3 separate regions of the Homo sapiens genome follow, and regions 2 and 3 are each linked to region 1. The links are contacts of gene promoters, found by promoter capture Hi-C in blood cells and fetal thymus (Javierre and others, 2016). All regions are on one chromosome and are shown on one strand. Each heading gives the region's core, a stretch centred on a gene start or on the middle of the fragment in contact. The rest is flanking DNA. Distances are from core to core; before and after follow the strand shown. Region 1 holds the start of PORCN (porcupine O-acyltransferase). Region 2 overlaps HDAC6 (histone deacetylase 6). Region 3 has its middle 14 kb from the start of ZNF630-AS1.

Region 1 (5,068 bases), core at 690-3,189:
TGATGGTGGAGGATGTGGTTGTGGGAGATGATGTCCTTGTTCTCAGGGGCCACACACTGAAGGATGTGGGGTACAGTGTCATGATGTCAGCAGGTTATTCAGGCAATTCAGGAAGATGATAGATAGATAGATGGATAGATAGATAGATAGATAGATGGATAGATATACAGATAGATAGATAGATAGACAGATAGAGCCAGCTAACGTGGCAAGATGTTGACAGAGAATCTGGTGATGCATACGTGGGTGCTCACTGTACTATTTTTTCAACATTTCAGTAGCTTTGAAAAATTTCAAAATAATAAACCTGGGAAAAAATAGAACATCCATTTAAAATTAAAAAAGAAAGAAAGAAAAAAGAAAGTGTAGAACCTTCGGATCTCAGATTTCCAGAAATCTCCGCCTCCTATAGGAATCTTGGGGACTTGGAATCTTTCATTAAGATACAGGCCTGCTATGACTGTGGAAACATTTCAGAATCCTAGAATCCAGAAATCGCATCATGCCCTGATTATAGAAATCCACAATGCCAACATTTTAGAAGTCTAGAATGTGAGAATTTCAAATTGTCAGAATCTCCAAACGCTGTAATCATGGTACTTTGGGATTCCATAACCCTGTGACATCAGCATGCCAATGTCTTATAACCTTGGGATGTAGACATTTCAGAATCCCAAGATCCAAGAATCTCAGCTTTCTGGAATCCCAGAACTCAGGAATACTGAAGGGCATGGCTTGGCATGGCAGGATGTGGCTCGGTGTGGCATGGCATGGGGTGGCTGGCATAGTAGGATGTGGTATGGTGGAATGGGGTTTGGCCTGGTGGGATGTGGTGGGGCTGAACATGTTGGGGTCCAGCTTGGACATGCTAGGGCCTGGCAGGATGTGACAGGGTAAGGTGTGGCTCGATATGGATGAATGTGGGAGGTCTGATATGGCCTGGCATGGTGGCACACGGTATGGCAGGCACTTACCGAGCCTCCAGAGGAGGCGGCAGGCGAGGCAGATGGCAAGGAGCAGCCAGATCTGGTCAAGGCCCTGCTGGGCAGTAGGCAGGAGACAGCCTTGCAGTAGCTGCTGGAAAAATTCCTGGCGGCTAAAGGTGGCCATTGCAGACCCCCACGGATGGATGGCCAGATGGATAGATCTGTCAAAGCAGGGACACAGAGGGAGCGGGTGTCCGTGGGGCAGACCTCGCTTAAAGGATGCACTCTGGCACTCACATTTCAGTTTGGGGCTGCCCAGCCCATGTAGAGGCACGGTACTGGAGGACTGGGGGAAGGCGTGAGAAGTCAGGTACATCAGACTGAGCCACCAACTGTGTGCATGTGGGTGTTCGGCATGCACACGCACAGCCTGTGACCTGGAGTGAATGAAGGACCTCTGTCTCTCCAGTGCTGTGAACAGTCCAGTCCGATGGTGATGGGATGGCATACATTTCAGGCCCATATATCAAATGGGGCGGGCGACGGGAAGGGGAATCCCTGGTTTCCAAGGTAGAGTCGCTCTGAGTGGAGGGCAGAGAGGGGGATTCTGTGACACTTGGGGGCCGTGTGCATCTCTCCTTGTATGGATGCGGCGGCACGGGGAGGGGGGGTGTCCTGTATCCTCCGCGCCCCCCATCTCATCCCCACCCGGCGAGAGGCCGCCAACAAAGTCCTGCCCAGGTCCGGGGGCTGCAAGGAGGTGGTGGTAGGAGACATAGCCTGAGGGAGAGTCGGAAAGGTGATGGGGAGGGGGTCCTAGCACTCGCGCTACAGATCCGCCTGGGGAGGCCGGCCCAGGGATGGGAGCTGGGGAGCCGCGTGCGCACTACTGGCGACCTACCTGGCAGGAAAGAAGCCGTGGTCCTGGGGACCGAGGACGCGCTGCCGCCGCCGCTGCCTCCTCCGGGCAGCCTCCCCCGCAGGCCGCAAGGCCGGGACCAGCAGCGGCTCCCAGAGCGGCGCGGCGAGCGGGCCCTTTAAATCCCGGGGCGGCCCGGCCGCCGGCTCGGCCAATGGGAGAGCAGGAGGGGGGCGGGGACGGGGACGCGGAGGAGGGGAGCAGGAGGATTGAGGGGAGACCGGCGCGGGGGGACGTCGGCGCGCAGGACGTTCACGCCCGCACCTTTCCGGCCTGTGGCGGTTTCAGCCCCAGACCGTCTGCCTCCGGAGGATTTCTGGCCATCCAAGAACAAACTTCCGAATCTCCAAATTTCCAAGCCTTGGAAGTGAGAAGGGAAAGATGGGGGAGGGAGGAGGGAAGCCGCTGCACCCCCAAATAGTCACCCGCGCACGTCCTCTAAATACCGTGGTGTCCCCGTTTCACAGATGGGAAAACAAACCGAGATCTCTCCTTCCCCAACCTTTGAGAGAACCGAAGTAACTCCCAACCCTCCCACCTCCTGGGACCGGCCAGGAACATTTATAAGTAATGACTGTGTCACCTAGGAACACAAATTAGGCGCCTGTGCTTCCCCTGGGGACGAGCTGTGAGCACTTGGCGTGTCGTCGTTGAGAAGTGATTTGCATGCTTAATTCCCCAGCAGACTCTTTGCTTCGAAGGTGACCCCAGCGACTAGTAAATGTTCTCTGTGAACTAGAGGGAGGCTAGTACCGAGCACTTAAAAGGGGGGCATTTATAAAGCTCTTAAGGGCCAGGCTCGGTGGCTCACGCCTATAAACCCAGCACTTCGGGAGGCCAAGGGTAGGAGGATAGCTTGAGGTCAGGAGTTCGAGACCAGCCTGGCCAACATGGCGAAACCCCGTCTCTACTAAAAATACAAAAATTAGCCAGGCGTGGTGGCGCACGCTTGTAATCCCAGCTACTCGGGAGGTTAAAGCAGGAGAATCAGGAGGCAGAGGTTGCAGTGAGCCAAGATCGCGTCATTGTGGGCTACAAGAGCGAAACTCCGTCTCAAAATAAATAAATAAAGACTGGGCGTGGTGGCTCACACCTGTAACCCAGCACTTTGGAAGGCCGAGGCGGATGGATCACCTGAGGTCATGAGTTTGAGACCAGGCTGGCCAATATGGCGAAACCCTGTCTCTACTAAAAATACAAAAAATTTAGCTGGGCGCCTGTAATCCCAGCTACTCCGGAGGCTGAGGCAGGAGAATCACTTGAGCCCAGGAGACGGAGGTTGCAGTGAGCCGAGATCACGCCATTGCACTCCAGCCTGGGTGACAAGAGCAAAACTCCTTCTCCAAAATAAATAAATAAATAAACAAGAGCGAAACTCCTTCTCTAAATAAATAAATAAATAAAATAAAAAAGAAAGCGCTTACACTGGCCCCATCCGCACCTCTATCTGCACCAACACTAAAGATTTATGTAGCACCCGCCTTCTACCTACCCTACTGCTGCAGTTTCTAGGCATTCCCCTTTGTACCTAGGCTGATGAAGGGCCTATTTTTCCAAAAGAGCACTTACTGGGCGCTTACTGCACTACATGCTTAGCTGTGACGTGGAAGGGAGAAGGAAGCCCAGGTCAAACTGGACGCCACCCTGACCTGGGCAGCCAACTGAAACAGATTTTAATCAGATTAACAATGGCCTGTATGGAGCTGGGCAAGTCATGTTCACTCACCCGTCTCCATTGTCCTTTTCTGTTAAACAAAAGAGTGGGCTTGGCAGGTTTTTGCTGGGAAACACCAATGGTAATTGAAGAGAAATGTATATTTTCTCTCTATTTTAACATGAAGTTAAATGGAGTTCTAGCTCATAAATTAGTATTCATGTATTACAAACAAAAAACATTTAATACGGTAAGAATATGTATATATAAGGAATAATAGCTTAGACCAGATGCACAAATATCAATTCTTTTCCTTAACAGCAGAATACAGGACATACATTTTATGAATTAAATTTCATTTTAATTTTTTTCTCAGTTGTCAAACCCACTCAAGTTGAGTCAACAATGACCCACAGCACCTACCAGAAATACTTCCCTCAATTGCAAGACTTGGCATTTAAAACTGGAAGATTCTTACCACATGTGCTCCTGGGCTTTGCGGACTTGATTGTTTCCATCTAGGCTTTTGACCTGTGTCACAAAGAAGTAGGATCTAGGTTTTAGGATATATAACGAACATCTACAAATCCGAAGAGGACAAACAATACACTTGGCAATAGACATTGGGTACAAATAGGTAATTCACAGCAGAAGAAACCTAAAATGGTCAATATGTATAATATATGAAAAGATAACCCAATCTCTTTACTGCTCAGGGAAATGTAAAATTAAAACAACAGTGAGATATAATACCATTTTACATCTACCAGATGTTGTGCTTCATATTTTTATCACTGGAGCTTAGTAGAGGGTGGACACTCAATAAATGTCTGTGGTCATTCTAGGTTGTGGTTTCTGGGGTGTTTTAGATGAGCTCTCCATAATTAAAGAGATACAAATTAAAAACAATGATATACTATTTTTCACTTATGGGACTGACAAAAATGCCAAGCCTTATAATGATAACATATTTGCTCTCTCTCTGTCTCTGTCCGTTTCTTTCTCCCCATGTATATACATATGTAATTTACATATATATAATTTTTCTGAATGATATACAGTGATTTTTCTGAATTATTTGTTAGTGGTTGCGGATATGACACCCTTTTAACTAAATACTTCAGTATGAATATCCTAAGAGCAAGGACTTTTTTTTCTTTTTTTACATTGCTACCAGCATAGTATGAGGTTTCCATTGCTCCACATCCTCACAAATACTTGTTATCTGACTTTTTGGTTCTAGCCACCCTGGTGGGCATGTCAATAGTGTCCTTGTATAGGAAAAGGGAATCATAGGGTCACAAGATACATTCTGTTATCAGGTTTTTTTAGTCTCCTCCAATGTGGAACAATGTCTCCATCTTCACTTAACTTTCATGATCTTGATGTTTTGGGAGAGCACAGACCAGTTCTTTGGAAGAATGTCCTTCAATTTGGGTTTATCTGATGTCTCCTCATGATTAGATTTGAATTCTGCATTTTTGGCAGGAATTCCACAGAAGTGACGCTGTGTTCTCAGCGTTATCAGGAGGCAGGAGGGTTCAGTTAGTCTCGAAATTGTTAGTATTA
Region 2 (4,709 bases), core at 868-3,367, 310 kb before region 1:
AAGGGAAGAAAAGAAATACAGACTCAGAGGTAGAAGAAATAGATGCAGACTTAGAGACATGGAGATGGCAGAAAGGGACAGATGGGGGCCGGGCATGGTGGCTCAGGCCTGTAATCCCAGCACTTTGGGAGGCCGAGGCGGGCAGATCATGAGGTCAGATTGAGACCATCCTGGCTAACACAGTGAAACCCTGTCTCTACTAAAAATACAAAAAATTAGCCAGACGTGGTGGCGGGAGCCTGTAGTCCCAGCTACGCAGGAGGCTGAGGCAGGAGAATGGCATGAACCCAGGAGGCGGAGCTGGCAGTGAGCCGAGATTGCACCACTGCACTCTAGCCTGGGTGACAGAGCAAGACTCCATTTCAAAAAAAAAAAAAAAGGGACAGATGGGGACATGAGACAGACTGACACGTCAAGAGAGTGACATGAAAAACAGAGAGACAGAGACATGTCCTCACACACACATACCCCAGGGTCAAACGTGGGACACACATACACAAGATACAGGGTTTTATATACATAGTGCCAAAGAGAGGTGCTTGCACACTTCCAAAACAGAAGATGGCAACGCAAGAACCACATACAGAGAAGATGGTCACACAGAGCCACACGTACTGCCACACAGACAGTACCATATAGATCAGTACTATATATCTGCACTAGTCATGTACACACACACAGTTTCTCAAAGAGGACAATAACCCACAGCCATCCTGCACAGTCACATACACATGCCATCACCACACAGCCACAATGGCGACATGCACTCTGGTATGTCCACAAGAGCTGGTTATTTGCACATACAGTTGTACACACACAGAAGGCTGTCCTGGCTACCCATGCACAGTCAGATGCACATGCAGATCCAAAGATGCACACCGGCGCCCAGGGTGACAGAGCGGTGCTCACACCCTTTCCCTCCCTCCCAGAGTCAGCCATACACAAGCCACCAGCCTCCTAGCTCACACAGAGGGAAGGCAGCTACCTCCCAGTCAGAGACATACACACAAACAGCCAGGGCAGACAGCCAGACAGTGACTGCTGTCACACACAGCCTTCCACATCCAGAAGGTCCCACACAGGCTGTCACAGAGATGGTTGCATTTAGTGACATACAGTATCACACCCATCACACAGAGAAAAGGTGAGAAATACCTGCCTGCACAGAGTCGCACACGCACATACTCAAGCACTTGTGATGGCACGCACATACAACACAGATCCAGCCAGGACACGGGCCATTGGTGCATAGTCAGAAGGCCCTCACACACACAGCCAAGACAGTCACTCACACAGTGTCACACAGAGAAGGCAGTCATGTACAGCCATCTGTGCACAAATACACAAGGTGATCACAGCCACCAACTGCCCTGGTAGCCTCATTAAACACCCATGCGCTGTCTCATATCATCAGCCACATGGTAGTCACACACACACATGCCAAGGAGGCAGGTCCAGGCTGCCACCTGCACAGGCGTGTCACATACGTCCTGCGATCTATCCTGAGCTGTACCTCGTAGGCAATGGGAAGCACCAGGCGATGCCAGGCAGCTAGGTAGTCAGCATCACCCATGCGGGGCCCGTTCCATGCCACGTTGACGGTGAAGCCTGTGCCCGCAGCCCGGCCGATCTGGCTGCTGGCACCCTCATCCCCCATGGGGAAGAAGGTGCCATGATCATAGCGGTGCAGGGACACATATAGCACACTGCCAGGGAGGGGGTGGGAAGCGGACCATGGCTGGTTAGGGGCTCCAGTACCCCTGAGGTGCTCACCCGCCTCCCTGATCACACTGCGGCCCCTGACTGCAGCCCTTACCTGGGGTCATCCTCAAACATGTGCTGAGTTCCATTACCGTGGTGGACATCCCAATCCACAATCAGGATCCTGGGGAGGAGACAGCACCTCAGTAACCGACGATACTCACGCCCTGGAAGAGGGCTGGGCTAGACCCCTGGGGTCTGCAGGGGCATTTAGTGCTGAGTGGCAGGACCCTGGGTCCTATCAGTTAAGGAGAAAAGTCTGATCCTGGTTCCCAAGGGCTGCCCGGTAGGCCTGAGCAAGTGCTCGGGGCTGGGCCCTGGGCTCTTCTGGGTCATTGCTAGGGAACTGGACCCTGGGCCTTGGGCAGCTAATGCTGGGGGCTGGTTCGTGGGTCTTCTGGAGTATGCATCAGGAGCCTAGACCTGGGTTCTGTCGAGGCAGCTGCTATAGGCCAGAAATGCTGGGGTGGGACCCTGGATCCTGTTTTGTAAGTGCCCAGGTAACATGATCTGGGGGTCCTATCTAAATAAGCACTGAGAGGCTCCATCCTCGGTCCTTCTCTGGGTAAGGACTGCACCCTTACTTCTTTCTGGGGAAGGAAGTCCTGGGAGCTGGACCATGGGGCATGAGTAAACAATGGGCTGGGGGGAGCATCCAGGTCCCCACAAGGATCAGGATTTGGGGGGTCCCCAGGGAGTCCTTACCGTAGGGCATGCCCACTGATAGTCTGGGCATGGCGAGCAGCCACAGCCACAGAGTTGAAAAAGCAAAAACCGCAAGCTGCATCCTGCTCTGCGTGGTGTCCTGGGGGACGCACCACAGCAGCACCATTCAGAACCTGGGAAGCAGCAGGGTGCTAAGATCGGACAGCCTGCCCTCACCTTCCTTTCTTCCTTTTTTTTTTTTTTTTTTGAGACGGAGTCTCGCTCTGTCGCCCAGGCTGGAATGCAGTGGCGCCATCTCGGCTCACTGCAAGCGCCGCCTGCCAGGTTCCCGCCATTCTCCTGCCTCAGCCTCCTGAGTAGCTAGGACTACAGGCGCTTGCTGCCACGCCCGGCTAATTTTTTGTATGTTTCTTAGTAGAGACGGGGTTTCACCATGTTATCCAGGATGGTCTCGATCTCCTGACCTCGTGATCTGCCCACCTCGGCCTCCCAAAGTGCTGGGATTACAGGTGTGAGCCATCACGCCCGGACCTTTTTTTTTTTTTGACACAGGGTCTCACTCTGTTGCCCAGGCTAGAGTGCAGTGGTGCAATCATGGCTTACTGCAGCCTTGACCTCCTGAGCTCACCTCAGCTTCTCAAAGCGCTAGGATTACAGACGTGAGCCACTGCACTTGGCCACCCTTCCCTTTCTCCAGTTCCTTCCATTATTCCCCCAGCCTCTAGGCCCACCCCCTCCCGTGCCCCTCCCCATGGCCCCTTTCCTCAGGCCCTGCTTGACTCTCTCAGAGCCTCCAGAAACAGCAGATGGCTCTCTTTTTCCATTCCCCCCAGGTCCTCCTCTCCCCAGCCCACAGAGGACACACCTCTCCTGAGAGCACAGCCTCCACCAGGCGGCAGGCAGCGCCAGTGGCAAGCTGTGCACAGGCGAAGGTACTGGGGCAGATATAGATGGAGTCAAAGTTGGAACTCTCACGGTGCAGCTCCCGGGTTTTCATTTTCTCTGTGGCCCGGAGATGACCCACGTACTCAGCACTGGAAGCACAGAGAGGAGCACCCGCAGGACAGTGAGGAGGGTCTGTCCCCTCCCTGGTCCCCACCCCTAAGACAGGGACTTCAGCCCCTCTCAAGTCCTGCAGCAGCTCCCCAGGAGGGGAAACCCAAGTTCCAGCCCCTGAGACCTCATCCACAGTCCTGGGAATCCACCCACCCCAGGCACCGGGGTCTGACCTGTGACAGGTGAGCAGCTCAGCCTCTGTGGCAGGGCGCGGTGTCAGGGTGAGGCAGCGCCCGGCAAGGCCCAGCTCCTCCAGACGGCACATGATCCGCAAGATGCGCTGGGGTACCTCAGGGTGGTGGCTAGCAGTGGGGAAACGAGAGGTAGAGGCTTAGTGCCTGAGGGGGAGGGACCCCCAACACCTACTCATCCAGCCCTCCAAATGCCTACCTGTCCCACAAGTTGCAGTGATTCATCATATTTTGGTCATAGACCAGCCCTGTGCGAGACTGTAGCACTGGCCATGTCAGGATTGGGAGCACAGGGGGCTCCCAGGGTCCTTCCTCCTCGCTCTCCTCTACATTGTCCTCCTCCATGTTGTCCCTCTCCACGGTCTCAGCTAAAAGGGGGAGGCCACGTTTGTCCTACCCTCTCAATCTGAATCCCCGTCATACTCTGGAACTCAGGTGACCCAAACAGAAAAAGGGGTGGGAGGCCTGAAACCAGGGCCCAGGGAGAGAGAGAGGGCCTGACCCTCTCCCACCAAGGCAGCCCAGTAAAGTCAGAGGAAGTCTGAAGACAGTCTCCCCCAGGGCTCATCCCACGTCCACCCCACACCAGGCCCACACCCCACTTCCTACTTGATCTCACAAGAACCTCCCAGAAGGGCTCAAGGGCTTCCAGAGCACAGGAAACTGAAGCCTGGGCACTGCAGGGCAGGGAGAAAATATGATGTCAAGGAATGTGGGCGGGCAGTGAGGCTCCCGCTTTCCCCTCCTCCACCGGGGCTCACCTCCGGCAGGGGGCACCAGGTGACTCCAGCATGGGGCAAGGGTCTCCCAGAAGGGTGTGGAGCGAAGCACTGACGCCTTCAGCCAGGGCGCGGAGGTTGTAGCCACCCTGGGGCAAGGAGTTGTGAAGGGGGATCAGGAAAGGACCAGACATGACCAGGGAATAATAATAATGATGATAATAAGAGAGTGCATACCACATGTCAAGCAACAAGGAACTTAGAAGGGTGCCTCACTGAATTCACTGGACAATGATATGAGGTGATTACATTATGC
Region 3 (4,843 bases), core at 21-2,520, 470 kb after region 1:
TTGTATTGACTAGTGAGTTTTGTATTTCTGTGTTTATGCCTGAATCGTGGCTAAAATTTTAGAATGAAACCTGTAAGATCTTTATTTGCATCTGCCTGTATGTTTATGTATTTATTTTATGCATATGTGATATTTTTCTACCTCTGGATGATACTATCAAATTAATTTATAAAATTCCTTAAAAACCCTAAAACTGTCAGAAAAAAAAAATCTGAACTTCTAATACTTCCAGTGTGGGGGAAAAAGTATTCTCTAAAACCTAACATAAATGTTTTAAAAATTCAATTTACTGCCGGGCGTGGTGGCTCACACCTGTAATCCCAGCACTTTGGGAGGCTAAGGCGGGTGGATCACCTGAGGTCAGGAGTTCAAGACCAGCCTGGTCAACGTGGTGAAACTCCATCTTTACTAAAAATACAAAATTAGCCGGGCGTGGTGGTGCATGCCTATAATCCCAGCTACTCGGGAGGCTGAGGCAGGAGAATCGCTTGAACCCAGGAGGCGGAAGTTGCGGTGAGCCATGAGCACACCACTGCACTCCAGCCTGGGCAACAAGAAGGAAATTCATCTAAAAAAAAAAAATTCAAGTTACCTAATTTAGGTAAATCTTTGGCAAACAAAATTAGCTTAATATTGTTGGCTTAATAAAAATAGCTATGTTTTATGAGTTATTACCATTAAGTATAACAGAAGTATACACTTCTTTCTACTTGGTATGTTCTTCCTAAATGTGTACAGGTTTACTAGTCGAATAAGCCAATATTGTATCAACTAGATTGTGAGATATATATTCATAAGCTTTGCTAGCCTGCTCTATGATAGACAGTTCATAGTTATCTACTTCCTAGTTTTCTCTGCAAAGTAAAAGTCATTAGTGGATAAAATTATAATCAATATATGTAAATGAAACTACTAGAAGCAATGGGGCAAAGATAAACAACTTTGTATGTAAGATATGCTCAGTATGTTTCCTCAACATTTTTCATAATTAAATCTTCAAGCATACAGAAGATACAAAGAATTGTTTGGTAAGTGCCAATATACCCTACACCCAGACTGTTACATGTTGTTAACCTGGCTTTATCTCATCTCTTTTCATCTATCCATGTTTCTATCTGTCCATCAATCCATGTTATTTTTTGGTGCAATTCAAAGTAAGTTGCAGATTTCAGTGCACTTCGCTTCTAGATAATTCAGCGTACATATCATTAACTAGAGTTCAATATTTACAGTTTTAAGTAAAATTGTATACAGTGAAATGTATAAATCTCAAGTGTATCATTCAAAGAATTTTGACAAATGTAAACCCCTATCAAAACATTAAACACGACCATCACCTGAGACAGTTCCCTCATGCCCTTTCCTTATCAATCCCTGCTGCCACCCCCTCCAGAGGCAAGCATTGTCCTGACTTTTCTCACCATAGATTAGTTTAGCCTCTTCTAGAAACTTCACATAAATCGAGCCATGCTGAGCTGGCTTGTGCCATTTCGCTGGGGCCAGCTGTTATCAGCACACCACTGATTGCAACCCAGAATTTTATACCTCAAGGCTGATCCCCTTCTGCTGCCAGACAGGAATGTGTTGTGCTAAAGTCTTCCAGCACAGTTTTACTTGATCCTCATGGGAATCCCACGTAAATGAGCCCTGGCTTCATTTTACAGATGGTGAAGGAGAGTCCCAGAGAGGGTAAAACTTTAGTTCATTGGAGATTGAGTTTTTCCATCAGTTTACTAAGCTTTATTGTTTGTTTGTTTTTGGTTTAGTTTTGTCTTTTACAGATGGGGTCTCACTATGTTGCTCAAGCTGGTCTTGAACTCCTGGTGCCTTGACCTCCCAAAGTGCTGGGATTACAGGCGTAAGCCACTATGTCCAGTTTAGCAAGCTTTAATTTTAATAGTCCGTTAGGTCTGTCTATCATTACAGGAGAGAGAGATGATAAAAATATTCTGTTTTAATATTTGGTCTTTGACCCCAGTTTCTGATACAAAGCTCTTAAGACCGTTGTAATTTCTTGTGTGATAGGAGTGTCTGACACAGAGCTTCTAAATCCCTTGGAATTTCCTGGGTGATAGAAGCATCTTTTGCTCTAATGAGGTGACCTCTTAATGTCCTCCTGGATAGCCTCAGGATGGGAGCTGGTTGCCAGGGGAATCAACCATGTGATTAGAAGGTTGGGACCTCCAGCCCCATCCCTCAACTCTGGGGCTGAAGGTTGAATTGATCATCAATGGCTAATGATGTAATCAATTACATCTAGGTAATGGAGCCTCTATAAAAACCCAAAAGGACAGGGCTTGGGGAGCTTCCAGATAGCTGGAAATGTGTGGGTTCTTGGAGGGTGGTGCTCTGGAGGCGGCATGGGAACTCCACACCCCTTCCCTCATGCCTTGCTCTATGCATCTTCGCTATCTGGCTGTTAATCTTCATCCTTCATTATATCCCTTATTAATAAACCAGTAAACATAAGTAAAGTGTTTGCCTGGGTTCTGTGAGCTGCTCTAGCAAATGAATTGAACCTCAGGGGGGTCGTGGGAATCCTGACTTACAGCCAGTTGGTAAGAAGTACAGGTCTCAATATGTGCTTGCAACTGGCATCTCAAATGGGAGACAGTCTTGTGAGACTGAGTCCTCAACTTGTGGGAGCTGACTCTGTCTCCAAGTAGATAGTCAGTAGTGGATTGAATTAGAGGACACCCAGCTCTTTATACCTGTGCTTTATGTTGACTTTTTCATATCCTTAGTTATTTAAGAGAATCAAGTTTTTTCACTTTTTAAAGAGCTATTTTTACAACCATGTTACCTCCTATATTTACTTTAAAATCACTTTAGTTAAATGGTAGCCAAGTATTGTTTATCAGTGACCCATGACCCTATTTAACCAAATTTTCAAGTATCCTAACAATTTTTGACATTTTGCCTTCCTCAAATCTAATCTTTTTTCTTTTTTCTTTTTGAGACAGAGTCTCAATCTGTCGCCCAGGCTGGAGTGCGGTGGCTCCATCTCCGGTCGCTGCAACCTCTGCCTCCCGGGTTCAAGCGATTTTCGTGCCTCAGCCTCCCGAGTAGCTGGAATTATAGGTGTGTGCCACCATGCCTGGCTAATTTTTGTATTTTTTAAGTAGAGACGGGGTTTCACCATGTTGGCCAGGCTGGTCTCAAACTCCTGACCTCAAGTGATCCGCTGGTCTCGGCCTCCCAAAGTGCTGGGGTTATAGGCATGAGCCACTGCGACCAGCTCCAAATCTAATATTAAATGGTATGTTTTATACCTAAACCTGCCTTTGAGATTTTCCAGAGGGTCCCAAGGAAATCACAAAATGATTTGTTCTTTCACTTTTTAAAAGGAGGTACTAAAATAATTAGATTTAGTTAATATTATATAAAGTGTATGGGAAGTGTTGTAAAAAAAATACTTAGCCTTCCCTAAATTAACAGGGCAAGTGTTTTGCACATGGACAATTCCATTAGCTCTTTTTAAGTGGCTGAGGGACCCATTTCACCAGTAAAGTAATCTAAGAAATCCAAGTCGTTCTTCCTGTATCACAAAAATATGTAGTCCTTATTATCTCTCCGGATCATCCCTTATCACCTATCTTTCCTGTAATAATAGACAGACCTAATGGACTATTAAAATTAAAACTTGCTAAAGTGGGTATGGTGGCTCACGCCTGTAATCCCAGCACTTTGGGAGGCCAAGGCAGGAGGATCACTTGAGGCCAGGAGTTCAAGACCAGCTTGGGCAACAAAGCAAGATCCCATCTCTACAAAAAAAACAATTAAAAATTAGCTGGGTGTGGTGGCACATGCCTATGGTCCCAGCTACTTGGGAGGCTGAGGTGGGAGGATTGCTTGAGCCCAGGAATTTGAGACCAGCCTGAGCAACATAGTGAGATCCTATCTGTAAAAAAAACAAAACCAAACCAAACAAACAATAAAGCTTGCTAAACTGATGGAAAAACTCAATACGCAATGGCCTAAAATTTTACCCTTAGCCCTGATTGCCTTCTGATCCTCTCCTGCCAGATCACACAAACTATACCCATATACAATAATAACTGGCAAGCCCCATGAGAATTCCCTATTCTATTTAGGCTTTCAAATATCCTAACCTGGTCAATTCAGACAATCTAAATTACTTCAAAATATTTATCAATTATACTCAAACTTACCTTCAATAGGTTGAGGCTGATTTTCCTCCAATTTTCCTATCCAAACCATTGTACAACCTAGAAATTGGAGACCTTGTTCTCTAAAGTCAACATCACCAGAAAACTAATCTTAAACCCTGTTAAAAGGGCCTCTGCATTGTCCTCTGTACATCACTAACACTGCTGCCAAGGCTACAGCAACCAAAACAGCATGGTACTGGTACCAAAACAGAGATATAGATCAATAGAACAGAACAGAGCCCTCAGAAATAATGCCGTATATCTACAACTATCTGATCTTTGACAAACCTGAGAAAAACAAGCAATGGGGAAAGGATTCCCTATTTAATAAATGGTGCTGGGAAAACTGGCTAGCCATATGTAGAAAGCTGAAACTGGATCCCTTCCTTACACCTTATACAAAAATTAATTCAAGATGGATTAAAGACTTACATGTTAGACCTAAAACCATAAAAACCCTAGAAGAAAACCTAGGCATTACCATTCAGGACATAGGCATGGGCAAGGACTTCATGTCTAAAACACCAAAAGCAATGGCAACAAAAGCCAAAATTGACAAATGGGATCTAATTAAACTAAAGAGCGTCTGCACAGCAAAAGAAACTACCACCAGAGTGAACAGGCAACCTATAAAATGGGAGAAAATTTTTGCAACCTACTCATCTGGCAAA

What was found. Contacts are between HindIII fragments. The CHiCAGO score rates a contact against its expected background, and 5 or more counts as called.
Region 2: a fragment that was not itself captured here is called in contact with the fragment with the promoter of PORCN in region 1 in 1 of 17 cell types (neutrophils); the score reaches 5.0 in neutrophils.
Region 3: a contact is called between a fragment that was not itself captured here and the fragment with the promoter of PORCN in region 1, in 2 of 17 cell types (M2 macrophages and M0 macrophages). The highest score is 7.1, in M2 macrophages.

The regions. Positions count from the first base shown.
Region 1 is chrX:48,505,863-48,510,930 of GRCh38, reverse strand. PORCN (porcupine O-acyltransferase) reads right to left here and starts at 1,939. Exons shown (of 15, transcript NM_203475.3): 1 at 1,828-1,939; 2 at 975-1,147. The coding sequence starts at 1,110. It overlaps PORCN-DT (PORCN divergent transcript), which reads left to right and starts at 2,092. Exons shown (of 2, transcript NR_135596.1): 1 at 2,092-2,212; 2 at 3,876-4,405. RefSeq lists a silencer at 1,713-2,112. The HindIII fragment of the contact is 7,257 bases long and covers 1-5,068 here.
Region 2 is chrX:48,815,217-48,819,925 of GRCh38, reverse strand. It overlaps HDAC6 (histone deacetylase 6), which reads right to left. Exons shown (of 29, transcript NM_006044.4): 15 at 4,436-4,542; 16 at 4,284-4,351; 17 at 3,874-4,042; 18 at 3,657-3,785; 19 at 3,293-3,461; 20 at 2,467-2,600; 21 at 1,817-1,885; 22 at 1,514-1,706. Among named protein-coding and RNA genes, the nearest start is that of ERAS, 8.9 kb to the left of the region's middle. The HindIII fragment of the contact is 5,405 bases long and covers 1-4,709 here.
Region 3 is chrX:48,039,935-48,044,777 of GRCh38, reverse strand. No RefSeq gene overlaps it. Among named protein-coding and RNA genes, the nearest start is that of ZNF630-AS1, 14 kb to the left of the region's middle. The HindIII fragment of the contact is 940 bases long and covers 801-1,740 here.